Linked DNA regions of Homo sapiens: region 1 is linked to region 2. Evidence: promoter capture Hi-C in human tissues and cell types (Jung and others, 2019). All regions are on one chromosome and are shown on one strand. The core of a region is centred on a gene start or on the middle of the fragment in contact, and the rest is flanking DNA. Distances in the headings are between cores, read along the strand shown. Region 1 has its middle 4.1 kb from the start of NR1D1. Region 2 holds the start of GAST (gastrin).

Evidence for each region. The method cuts DNA at HindIII sites, captures the fragments that hold promoters and counts their contacts. A contact is called where the count stands out against the background at its distance.
Region 1: a fragment that was not itself captured here is called in contact with the fragment with the promoter of GAST in region 2 in 1 of the 25 tissues and cell types used here (dorsolateral prefrontal cortex).

The regions. Positions count from the first base shown.
Region 1 is chr17:40,101,651-40,107,637 of GRCh38, reverse strand. No RefSeq gene overlaps it. Among named protein-coding and RNA genes, the nearest start is that of NR1D1, 4.1 kb to the right of the region's middle. RefSeq lists enhancers at 263-892, 3,797-4,676. The HindIII fragment of the contact is 5,880 bases long and covers 490-5,987 here.
Region 2 is chr17:41,708,962-41,714,536 of GRCh38, reverse strand. It overlaps GAST (gastrin), which reads right to left and starts at 2,206. Exons shown (of 3, transcript NM_000805.5): 1 at 2,150-2,206. The HindIII fragment of the contact is 8,154 bases long and covers 1-5,575 here.

The DNA.
Region 1 (5,987 bases), core at 2,180-4,679, 1.6 Mb after region 2:
ACAAATGCGTGTGCAAAAGGCAAATTCAGCCTCCATCCCTCATTGAAGTGCCCCCTTCCATCTGCCTGGCCCTCTAACCTCCATTGGTCCTTCTCTGGGCACTCTAACCACAGACCCCCACTTCTGGCTCTCTGCTTCTGCCCCCTACTCGTGACCCCATTTCTAAGCTGCGGTGCCTCTTGCTGGGCTATGAGACTATGCTAGAGTCAGGGGGACAGTAGGTTAGCAGGAACAAGCAAATGAAATGAGCACGACCCACATTTCCTCATCGCACCAAAACTTCGCAGATCCTGCATTGCAGAGCTAGCGCTTTTTTTTTTTTTTTTTAATCTCCGCTGGGCCCCTACACACGTCTGCATTTTTGCAACCAGCACAGATTTTTTTTTTCCAGGGTGCAAACTGCGCATTCTAATGAGCCAAAGCTCCTTCCTGCGGCATTGAAAATCTCTTTGGCAAACTGCTTCTTCCCCACTCGCCCTCCCCCCAATTTAGAAGAGGAGGAGGGATCCCAAATTTGTGAAGTCGCATCCTCTCTCTCTCCTTCTCCTGCCCCCCCTCCCCCAAGATACCGCAGTCTTTCCAGCCCGACTAACAGCTGCAGACCAGGGGAGAGGAGTGAGAGGAGGGAAAGTAAGCCTTGTTCCTTCTTTCCACTCAGGCTGAGCCGGCCGGGCGGGGGTTGCTTTTTTCCCTGGGCAGCCATTGCAACCCCCCTTTCCTCCCCATCCCAGCCAGTGTTTATGTAAGCCTCCCAGAAGCTACACAAGGCCCCTAATGCCTGCCCAGGCCACCGCTCCTCCGAGGTCCATTCTGCTCACGAGGACTGTCATGAGCCTCTGGCCTCCCCAGGCAGCTAATGGTGATCTGCAGAGGCCCAAAGGATGGAGAGACACTGGATAAGGAGAGGGTTTGAGATGGAGCTTGGGATAAAGGGTAGAGATGGAAGCAGATGCAGAGCACCCCCTCTCCCTTTCCTCCACCTCCCCCACATTCTCCCTGCATCTGAGTTCTACAGAGGCTCAAGGGCAGCCAATGGGCAGGTGCAGGGGCCTGGAAGATGATACCACTGTGGCTCCAGCAGCATGGCAAAGATTGGACAGGAGGCCTTAGCAGAGCATGTACTGGATGCCAGAAAAAGGGTCATCTGGGGCTTAGTCTCCACTGCCAAGGACAATCCATGCCTCCTCCAGGATCCTGTGATGTGGGTGAGATCCTAGGTTCTGAGAGAGGGGACCCTTCTTCAGGTTCTTCAAAGCATCTGCTGAAGAAGCATTGGCCCAGGACAGTGGCTTTCGGAAGGGCTGGTTTTAGAGGTGCACGTTGCTCAAGCAGGTAAATGGGGAAGTGGGATGCTGTTTCCTTAAGGCTTTGGACACAACTTTTGTTGGTCCTTGGTGGCCTTCCACACGCTCCCTCAACCAATCTTCTTAATACAGCTCCTGGAATGAAGCACCATGGGACTTCAGAGGGCCCTGACCTACTTGCCCCACTCTCCTCACCACCAGCAGCAGACCCCAAATTCAGAGGGTTTGGGTAGAGAAGAGAGTTCAGACGCCTGTTTCTGTTAGTCACCTCTATAGCAGTCTGTGGTTTGTGCACCCTGTTCCTGCCCCTTCTACTTTTAGAACCAGATGAGGGAAATGTAGGACGGGGAGTGGGAAGAGTTTAGGGGAAGAGGAAATGTGCCTGGGGTTAAAAGAGAGATTTTGGAAAGCTGAGGTACTCCCTGGGACAGGGACAAGGGGTGCTTCAGGCTTCTGTTCTTGGTGATATATCCCACTTCCAAGCATCACCATTGCTTGGGAAACACCAGGATGAGTTTGCTGCTCAGACGTTCCCCTAGGGTGGCAGTAATCTCTCTAGGAGGGGCAGTCTTGCTAGCAGAAAGAGTTTCATCTTCACGCCTGGGGTTGAATCCCCAGCATTGCCATTTTCATTGTGACGCTGACAGTGGTAGTTCAAGAGATAGCTAGAGGGGAGATTTAGCCCCTCCAATAATCTCCATCCGCGCTATCATTCTTTGATGGACATCTTCTCAGTCTTAAGTGCTATGCAAATTACAGCTTCAAGACTAATCACCTAGACCCTCTGGCACCCTGGGCAAGTTAATAAAGTTCTCTAAGTCTCAGTTTCCCCATCTCTAAAATAAGAATGAGACCTACAGCATAGGGTTGTTGTGAATATTAAATGAGATAATGTGTACAAAACACTTTGCACAGTGCCTGGCATACGGTTGGTACTTAATACATATTTATGGTTTCCTTTCCTTGGAAAAAGCAGTAGTGAGGTAAAGATAGAATCTGAGGCAAAACACATCCATGGAACCCAGCCCTGGCTCATGCCTCGCCCTTGCTTTCTCCATCCCCCTCCCCCCACCACACTGAGAAACAAGTTAGCTCAGACTCTGTCCTTCCTGTGGCATGTTCTTAAAGTTCTCCCCAAAACATCCAGGCTTTGGGTGGGGTTGGGAAAGATAGCTGGCCTTTTAGAGACAAAGAAAAGGATTTAGGAGGGCAGGGAGTGAGTCTCTCCCAGGCACATGGCTGGTTCCCTGATTCAGGGGCATCCCCAGCATTTCTATACCAGGTTTGCATCACCTGGGCAGACAGGTTTCTACTCTGGGCAATGGTTTCTTGGTGAGAAAGGAGGGGGATGGGAAGGCATCTACAGAAGCCTGACCTGTTTCCAGCAAGGACCCACCCTCAGTCAGTCAGTCAGTCAGTCAGTCAGTCAGTCAAGCAGTTGGCCCAAGATTTAGGCCACCCAGAATTTGCACAGGGTGTTGCCCTGTTACCCAGAACAACCTACTGACAGGGAGAACAGATCTCAGATCAAACATGCACACCCACACACACAGCATTCACACTCACACACAAACATGCAGTCTCACTCATAGTCATAGAATCACACACACACACACACACACGTGCACACATACATAACTGACCAGAGCTTAGTGTTCTCAATACCTTTCCTTCTTCTCCTCTGTGTCTGCTGTCCTCTGCAGTCCAAATAAATCAAGGAAAATTAAAGACATATTTGGAAACACACAGGCAGGATCCAACACTGCCCCTAATGGGAAGGTTCGTCCCCAGAATCCCAGACTTGGGAATCCAAGTGGAAGTGTATGCAGAACCAGGGCAGTGCCTTGCTGTACCAGGTTGTGAATATGCATCTTTTCTACCTGGATCCAATCTGAGTACTATTTATGAAGAGTTAAGTGCTTTCTTGAGTTGAACTGGGCTATGGGAGAAATGGGGTGTGTGTGTGTGTGTGTAGAAGTGAACAGCAGGCCGGGCATGGTGGCTCACGCCTGCTATCCCAGCACTTTGGGAGGCTGAGGTGGGTGGATCACCTTAGGTCAGGAGTTCAAGACCAGCCTGACTAATATGGTGAAACCCCATCTCTACTAAAAATATAAAAAAAATTAGCCAGGCATTGTGGCGTGCTCCTGCAGTCCCAGCAACTTGGGACGCTGAGACAGGAGAATGGCTTAAACCCGGAAGGTGGAGGTTGCAGTGAGCCACTGCACTCCAGCCTGGGCGATAGAGTGGGACTCTGTCTCAAAAAAAAAAAGAAGTGAACAGCAATGTCCAGCTGGAGGGATAGGTGAGGAAGGTTGTGTTGAGATACACCTGTTGTCTTAAGGTCTTACAGCCAAGGTTGAGGTCAAAGAGAAACCAAGATTCTACTCCGAATCACCCAGAGCCAGACAACCCAGCCTTTCCCCCCTCCCTTTGGTGGCTTTGGGTCTCAGAGTTTCTGCCCTTCTCCCAGCAGCTGCTGACAGAGAAAGGAGCAGGGTACACAGACTGACTAGAAGCTTCTGGGGCCAAGAGAGAACCCTGCCTTTTCATTCTGTACTCCTCTCACCAGCTGTAGAAGAAAGACACCCGAATTACTTGTGAGGGAGAAAAGGAAGGGCCCTATAAGAAATGGAAAGGAAGGAAGGAAGGAGCAAGGGGGTAACCCCTCTCCTTTGCCCCCTCCCTCCCAGCCTCTGCCTTCACACCACACACAGACTGCAGAACCACCCAGGTTTTGCCAAGAGGAGAGTCAGGCTGACTGAATTTCAGCTCTCTCTACCTCTGCTCCCTCCTCCTTCTCACTGATTGCAGCAGGCGAGGAGTCTTGACCCACCCCAGCTCCCACTCCTAGAAGAACAAACATCCAGCAAGTATACAGGGGGTGGGTAGGACCTCCACAGCAGCAAACAGAGCTGTGGGCCTTGGGGAGGACCCCGGCCAAGTAAAGGGAGGGTGCTAGTGGTGGTGCTGTGCTGTGGGGAGCTAGATGCACGCCAGGGGTCCTGATTTTGAGTCCAGCCCTGACAGACACCTGGGCTCTGGCCCTGGCTCTGACTTGGAGTCAAGGTCACAGAGAGCAGGCAAGGGCAGGACAGGGCAATTCACCTCCTAGCTTTCCCTCCAGAGCCCAGAGGGTGGAGGGAGAGGGGGTGGAGGCTGAGAACCAAGTTTTCCTGAAAAGCCTCTTTCCTTGTTTGTTTTAGCCCCTCCCAGTTGCTCCCACACTCTGCTGCAGCTTCCCAACTCTGGGCCAAAGGGCCAGAGAAGAGCCCACTGCCCTCTCTCTCCCACTTTTCTTGGGAGCAGGAGAACAAAGCTAAAGCCTAGCCCATTCCAGGAAGCTCATCTTCTACAAGGAGTCAGAGGGTGAGTGGTCAAGCTCCTGCAGTCAACCTCACTGTCCTCACTACCCAGTTTACTCCTGTGCTCATATTATTATTCTTTTTTTTTTTTTCTTTTTTTGAGATGGAGTTTCGGTCTTGTTGCCCATGCTGGAGTGCACTGGCGCGATCTCAGGTCACTGCAACCTCTGCCTCCCGGGTTCAAGCAATTCTCCTGCCTCAGCCTCCCGAGTAGAGTAGCTGGGACTACAGGCGTGCGCCACCACGCCCAGCTAATTTTTGTATTTTTAGTAGAGACGAGGTTTCTCCATGTTGGCCAGGCTGGTCTCAAACTCCTGACCTCGGGTGATCCACCTGCCTCGGCCTCCCCAAGTGCTGGGATTACAGGTGTGAGCCACCACCACACTTGGCCTTTTTTTTTTTTCTTTGAGATGGACTCTCACCCTGTTGCCCAGGCTGTTGTGCAGTGGCATGATCTCGGCTCACTGCAATCTCCATCTCCTGGGTTCAAGCAATTCTCCTGCCTCAGCCTCCCGAGTGGCTGGGACTACAGGCGTGCGCCACCACGCCCAGCTAATTTTTGTATTTTTAGTAGAGATGGGGTTTCACCATGTTGGCCAGGCTGGTCTCGAACTCCTGACCTCAGGTGATCTGCCCACTTCAGCCTCCCAAAATGCTGGGATTACAGGTGTCAGCCACCACCCCCGGACTCCCATATTCTTTTTCTCTACCTTTTCGGTGGCTTTCATGTTTCCCAGGCATCCATCAATACCATCCCAGGAGCTGCCTGTGGAGAAGGGCTTCCTATGTGAAGAAAACCCTCTCTAGAAGCACTGGGACTGGGGAGGAATTAGCGGGAGCAGCAGGTGGCTCAGGCTCCCTCTCCCTTCGCTGCCTAAGAAGCTTCCATCCCCTCCATGACCCAAGCCCTCTAACATGATAGATCTCCTCTACTTGAGATCTGTTATTACTCATGGGACAGTTGCTGCTCTGAAGCGAAATACTGGCTGTTTTTTGTTTGTTTGTTTTGGAGACAGAGTCTCACTCTATCCCCCAGGCCGGAGTGCAATGGCGATCTCGGCTCACTGCAACCTCCACCTCCCGGGTTCTAGCGATTCTCCTGCCTCAGCCTCCTGACTAGCTGGGATTACAGGCACCCACCACCACATCCGGCTAATTTTTGTATTTTTAGTAGAGACGTGGTTTCACCGTGTTGGTCAGGCTGGTCTCAAACTCCTGACCTCAGGTGATCAACCCACCTCAGCCTCACAAAGTGCTGGGATTACAGGCATGAGCCAAAGCACCCGGCAATGCTGGCTGTTTCTAACCCCTGTTCAGT
Region 2 (5,575 bases), core at 957-3,456:
GCCTCCCAAAGTGCTGCGATTACAGATGTGAGCCACTGTGCTCAGCCCAAGACTTGTTATTTAAAGTGAACTTTTTAGGCCAGGCATGGTAATCCCAGCACTTTGGGAGGCTGAGGAGGATGGATCCCTTGAGCCCACAAGTTTGAGACCAGCCTGGGCAACATACTGAAACCCCATCTCTACAAAAAATACAAAAATTAGCCAGGCATGGTGGCATGCACCTGTATTCCCAGCTACTTGGGAGGCCGAGGTGGGAGGATCGCTTGAACCGGGGAGGTGGAGGTTGCAGTGAGCCGAGATTGCACCACTGCTCTCCAGCCTGGGCGACAGAGTGAGACCCTGTCTCAAAAAAACAAAAACAAAAAGTGAAACTTTTAAATAGTAATACCAAAGGAACATGGACATCCAGCTGTGTTACAGACCGCATGTTATCACTTTGGAGACTGCAGCACATTCAATGCTTGGCCAGCTCACACTGATTTTTGTGCAGCCCTGAGAGGAAAGGTTCTCCTGTCATTTTTGCTTAACTGAGGAATATCCTGTGATTATAATGAAGCAGTTAAGAAAAAATTAAGCTGTCACCATTAGCAATTATGTATCAGGGTGAATCAAGTTTGGGGAAAACATAATACAGAACTAAACTGGAATCTCAAACAAACATAAAATTCAAATGCTCATCTATTCCCTGGACTCACTATTTTTGTATGCTTTTGGTCTCACTATTCTGATTGGCTTTATCATAAGAAAATGATAAAAATTTTCTCTTGTCAGAATACATTTGTATTAATAAAATACTGTACTGCTTTTAAGTTTTTCTTTTTTTCTTTTCTTTTTGTGAGACAGAATCTTGCTCTGTCTCCCAGGCTGGAATGCAGTGGCTGGCGTGATCCTGACTCGCTGCAGCCTCGACCTCTTGGGCTCAAGAGATCCTCCCACCTCAGCCTCCTGAGTAGTTGGGACTACAAGTGTGCACTACTATGCCCAGCTAATTTTTTTGTTTTTATTTTTAGTAGAGATGAGGTCTCACTATGTTGCCCAGGCTGGTCTGGAACTCCTGAGCTCAAGCAATCTGCTTGCTTCAGCCTCCCAAAGTGTTGTGATCACAGGCATGAGCCACGGTGCCTGGCCATTAAGTTTTTCATAATCAGGTTTTCTGTTAGGTTTTCTTTGGAAGAAAAGAATTCTGCTGCTGAAGAAATGTTTGAAAAATCAGTGATCTGGAGCTGTATTGTCAGATGCTAACCACATGTGTTGTTCAGTGCTATAGCCACCAGCCACATGTGGCTCTTTACATTTAAATTAATTAAATTAAAAAATTATGGTCAGGTGCAGTGGCTCACGCCTGTAATCCCAGCACTTTGGGAGGCTGAGGGGGTTGGATCACTTGAGGTCAGGAGTTTGTGACCAGCCTGGCCAACATGGTGAAACTCTGTCTCTACCAAAAATATGAAAAATTAGCTGGGTGTTGTGGCAGGCGCCTGTAATCCCGGCTACTCGGGAGGCTGAGTCAGGAGAATTGCTTGAACCTGGGAGGCAGAGGTTGCATGTCACTGCACTCCAGCCTGGGTGACACGGCGAGACTCTATATAAAAAAACAAACAACAACAACAACAAAAACTTCCTTACACTAACCCCATTTCAAGCGCACACGTGGCTAGTGGCTACCATATTGAACAGTGCAGATGAAGACCATTTCCTGCATCATAGGACGTTCTTTTGGATGGCACTGGTCTAGGAAAGGGCTTGAAGTGGGATCCAGGAGCTGTGGATTCCTATCCCAGCCTTGCCTAATAATCCCTGTGACTTTGGGCAAGTCACATCTTGCCTCTGGGCCTCAGTTTTCTTGTCTGAGAGAAAGGAGAAGAACCCCAGTCCTCCTCACCTCCCAGGGCTGGGAAGAGTGTGAAGGGATAGGCTAAGGGCAGGGCCCCGGCTGCGGCAGAAGGGCAGGTGGAAGGCAAGGTTGGGAATACCAGGGTAGGTACTGGAGCCAAGACCTAGTTCCATCCTGGGATAAAGAAAGGGTCCCAGCTCTGGAGACCCCAAGGGGTGAGCCCCAGACTCTGGCCAGTGGCCTGGTACCTTGATGGGGGAGAGGACCTGTCAACCCACTTCCTAGCCTCTCCCCTCTCCTCCTGGGTTTTCTCACCTGCAGAGCTGGGAGGTGTGTGGTGCCACGGCTGGGCCTGGTGCCTCTCAGGTCTCTGCTCTGCTTGATGCTCCAGGCCTGCCTTATAAAGCCCTCAAGGTCCCTCCCAACTGTCCCCCCACCCCGCCCCTACCCTGCCATATGAGTCCAGGCGAGAGGAATGGGGTGGGGCACAGGTACAGCCCATCACCCTGCCCCGCCCTTTCATTTAGTGTCAGTCAGTCATCCAGGATGTGGGGGAAGGATAGGGGAGTTGACCTTCATGGTGAGGGGCTGGAGCGGGGTGGCGGCAGCTCTCCAGCTGTACCTGAGGGGCAGGAACCAAGCTCCCTGGGTCAGGAGCAATGCTTCCCACCATATCCTGGGGGTCAGAGGCCTGGCACTTATCTCTCGAACTACATAGGGACCTTTGTGGGTGGTGGTAGGTGAGGGAGTGAACCCGATGGGCTTAGATTCAGGGAAAGTGGATTTCGCCATCCACTGATGTTTGGCAAGCGTGTGAATGTGGGGTGATGTATTGATTCCCCGTCCCCTCCACTGGACTCTGCAAACATAACGTGTTACCAGGAGCAATGGGTTGTGGGCTGATGGCCCTGTTCTCTCCTTCTAGTGGCTCACATCCTGGTCACCTCTGAAGTCCTTTCACCCTCCCCCTACCATGGAACACCCTTGGTGCCTTCTTCTCCTTAGGCCCTCTGTGCTGGGCTGGGTTTGGCTTGTAGCTGCCCCGTGTCTTCTAGGTCAGCTGCCCATGCACCACCACTTGCAAACCCCCTATGCAGAACCAATTCCTGGAGGGTCCTGCCTTTGAAGCCTCCTTCATTTTGCTTTCAAGGGGAGCTAGTAATCTGCATAACAACTTTTTTTTTTTTTTGAGACAAAGTCTAGTTCTGTCACCAGGCTGGAGTGCAGGAGTGCAGTGGTGTGATCTCGGCTCACTGGAACCTCCGCCTCCTGGGTTCAAGCGATTCTTCTGCCTCAACCTCCCTAGTAGCTGGGATTACAGGCGCACGCCCCCACGCCTGGCTAATTTTTTGTATTTTTAGTAGAGATGGGGTTTCATCGTGTTGGGCGGGCTGGTCTCGAACTCCTGACCTCATGATCGGCCCAGCTTAGTCTGCCAAAGTTCTGGGATTACAGACGTGAGCCACCATGCCCAGCCAACAACTTTTCAGTATCAAAATATACCTTCAAATGGTTAGCAAACAGACTAAAGCATTTGCCAAAGATGGACCAGAAAACAAAATGGTACCTTGTTGACTTATTTGATAAACTGCTGCCTCCACATGGTTTGACCAGATGTAATGAGCCGTAGGCTGTTTTTTACTTTTCCACTGTTGAGAGCAGAGATTTTGCTCCTGTTCATGCGTCATTGGGCCCCCACCTTTTCTGGGAGAGTTTGATCCCCTTGGGTATTGGGTAACTGCAGTGGTACCCATGCTTACAGCCAGCCTTGCTGAGAATTAATGGGTGATGAAGGAAGCAGGCTGTGCGGTGTCCATGGCAACTGACGGCTGAATAACCGTTGTGAATAACCACTCTCATCTAGAGCAGGACACGGTGACTCAGCAGATGGAATAAATGAAAACGACAAAAAGCAGTGCAGGCATTGGTGATAATTAATTGAATCACAGAATCTCAGAGATGAAAGGACTTTGAGGGGGCTTGGGAGAACAGGTGGGGTGAGTGTAGCTCTGTTCATACACTAGGGGAATGAATGAAGACATTCGTGTTGCTATGGTAACACTAATGGGAAATGATAAGTTTTCAGTAGAACCCTGGTTGTACCAGAGCCCAAGACTCAGTTTGTGCCCATGGAGGGGGTTATGCCCCCTTGAATGTTCTTCCCCAGGCTGGTTACATGAGGGATGACAATTTCAACAAATAGAAGCATGTCTCCTATTCCATAGGCAATGGTTAGAATGTCACTATTTGGCCAGGCTTGGTGGCTCACTCCTGTAATCCCAGCACTTTGGGAGGCTGAGGCAGGTGGATCACGAAGTCAAGAGATCGAGACCATCCTGGCCAACATGGTGAAACCTTGACTCTACTAAAAATACAAAAATTAGCTGGGCATGGTGGCGGGCGCCTGTAATCCCAGCTACTCGGGAGACTGAGGCAGGAGAATCGCTTGAACCTGGGAGGCACAGAGAGGTTGCAGTGAGCTGAGATCATGCCATTGCACTCCAGCCTGGTGACAGAGCGAGACTCTGTCTCAAAAAAAAAAAAAAAAAAAAAAAAAGAATGTCACTATTTGCAGACCCTGCCAGGTCTGCAGGGGAAGGGTTGCATTCAGAGATGAGCATCCTTGACCCTGAGGAGCTCCCCAGTCACGGACTGCACGTTCTCCTCATGAGGGGACCTCGTCTGATGGAAAAGGAAGGGTTTCCTGGTCCTGTCTTTTTCCAGCTGTTGAGCTTTGAGCATATTTCTCTCCTTCTCTGAGCTGTTTTCTCCTCTAGGAAATGAGGAAAGTAACTTGGGGAGGAGGGTCTCGTGAAGGTGATGTACATAAAGCGCCCTGCACGGTGCTCAAAACATTGCAGATATTTGGCCGGGTGCGGTGGCTCATGCCTGTGATCCCAGCACTTTGGGAGGCCAAGGCAAGCAGATCACCTGAGGTCAGGAGTTCGAGACCAGCCTGAACAACATGGTGAAACCCCGTTTCTACTAAAAATACAAAAATTAGCTGGGCGTGGTGGCACATGCCTGTAATCCCAGCTACTTGGGAGGCTGAGGCACGAGAATTGCTTGAACCCAGGAAGTGGAGGTTGGAGTGAGCCAAGATTGTGCCATTGCACTCCAGCCTGGGTGACACAGTGAGACTGTCTCAAACAAACAGACAAACAAAAGAGAATATCGCAGGTATTTAATCCATTTTGCGTCTTCTCCCCCATCCTCTCTGGGTCTCAATTAACCACATTTGGAAATAGGAATCATTCATTTGTACCTCATAGGGCTGCAGTGAAGGGAAGAGGTGACAAGGTCTGTGCACACGCTTTATACACTTGGGGGAGTTCTCCTTCCCCAAGGCTTAAAGGAGGGTAATTCCCTAAGCATATCACTCTGTGAATCCAAGGGTTTCCCTCCTGCCAGCTGTGACTCAGAGGGACCTCAGCCCAACTGCCACTGAAAGAGGCAGCAGGGATAGAGTCTATGGAAGCTGGACCTCCTGGTGTACAGGGGGTTTTGGAACTGGTGAGGCCAGGGTTTGAATCATGGCTCTAACACCGACTAGCTGGGTGAGCAGAAAATTCAATTTCTGGGCCTACCAAATTGAAGACCAGATCCCAGACCTTGGGACCCATCTCCGTCCCCCTCGAGGGTGCAGGTGTGTGGGCCCTGCCCCTGTCATCACAACGATAACAATGCCGTGTACCAGGAACTGATAAGCTCTTAGCATGAATGAATGCAATCACTCTTCAC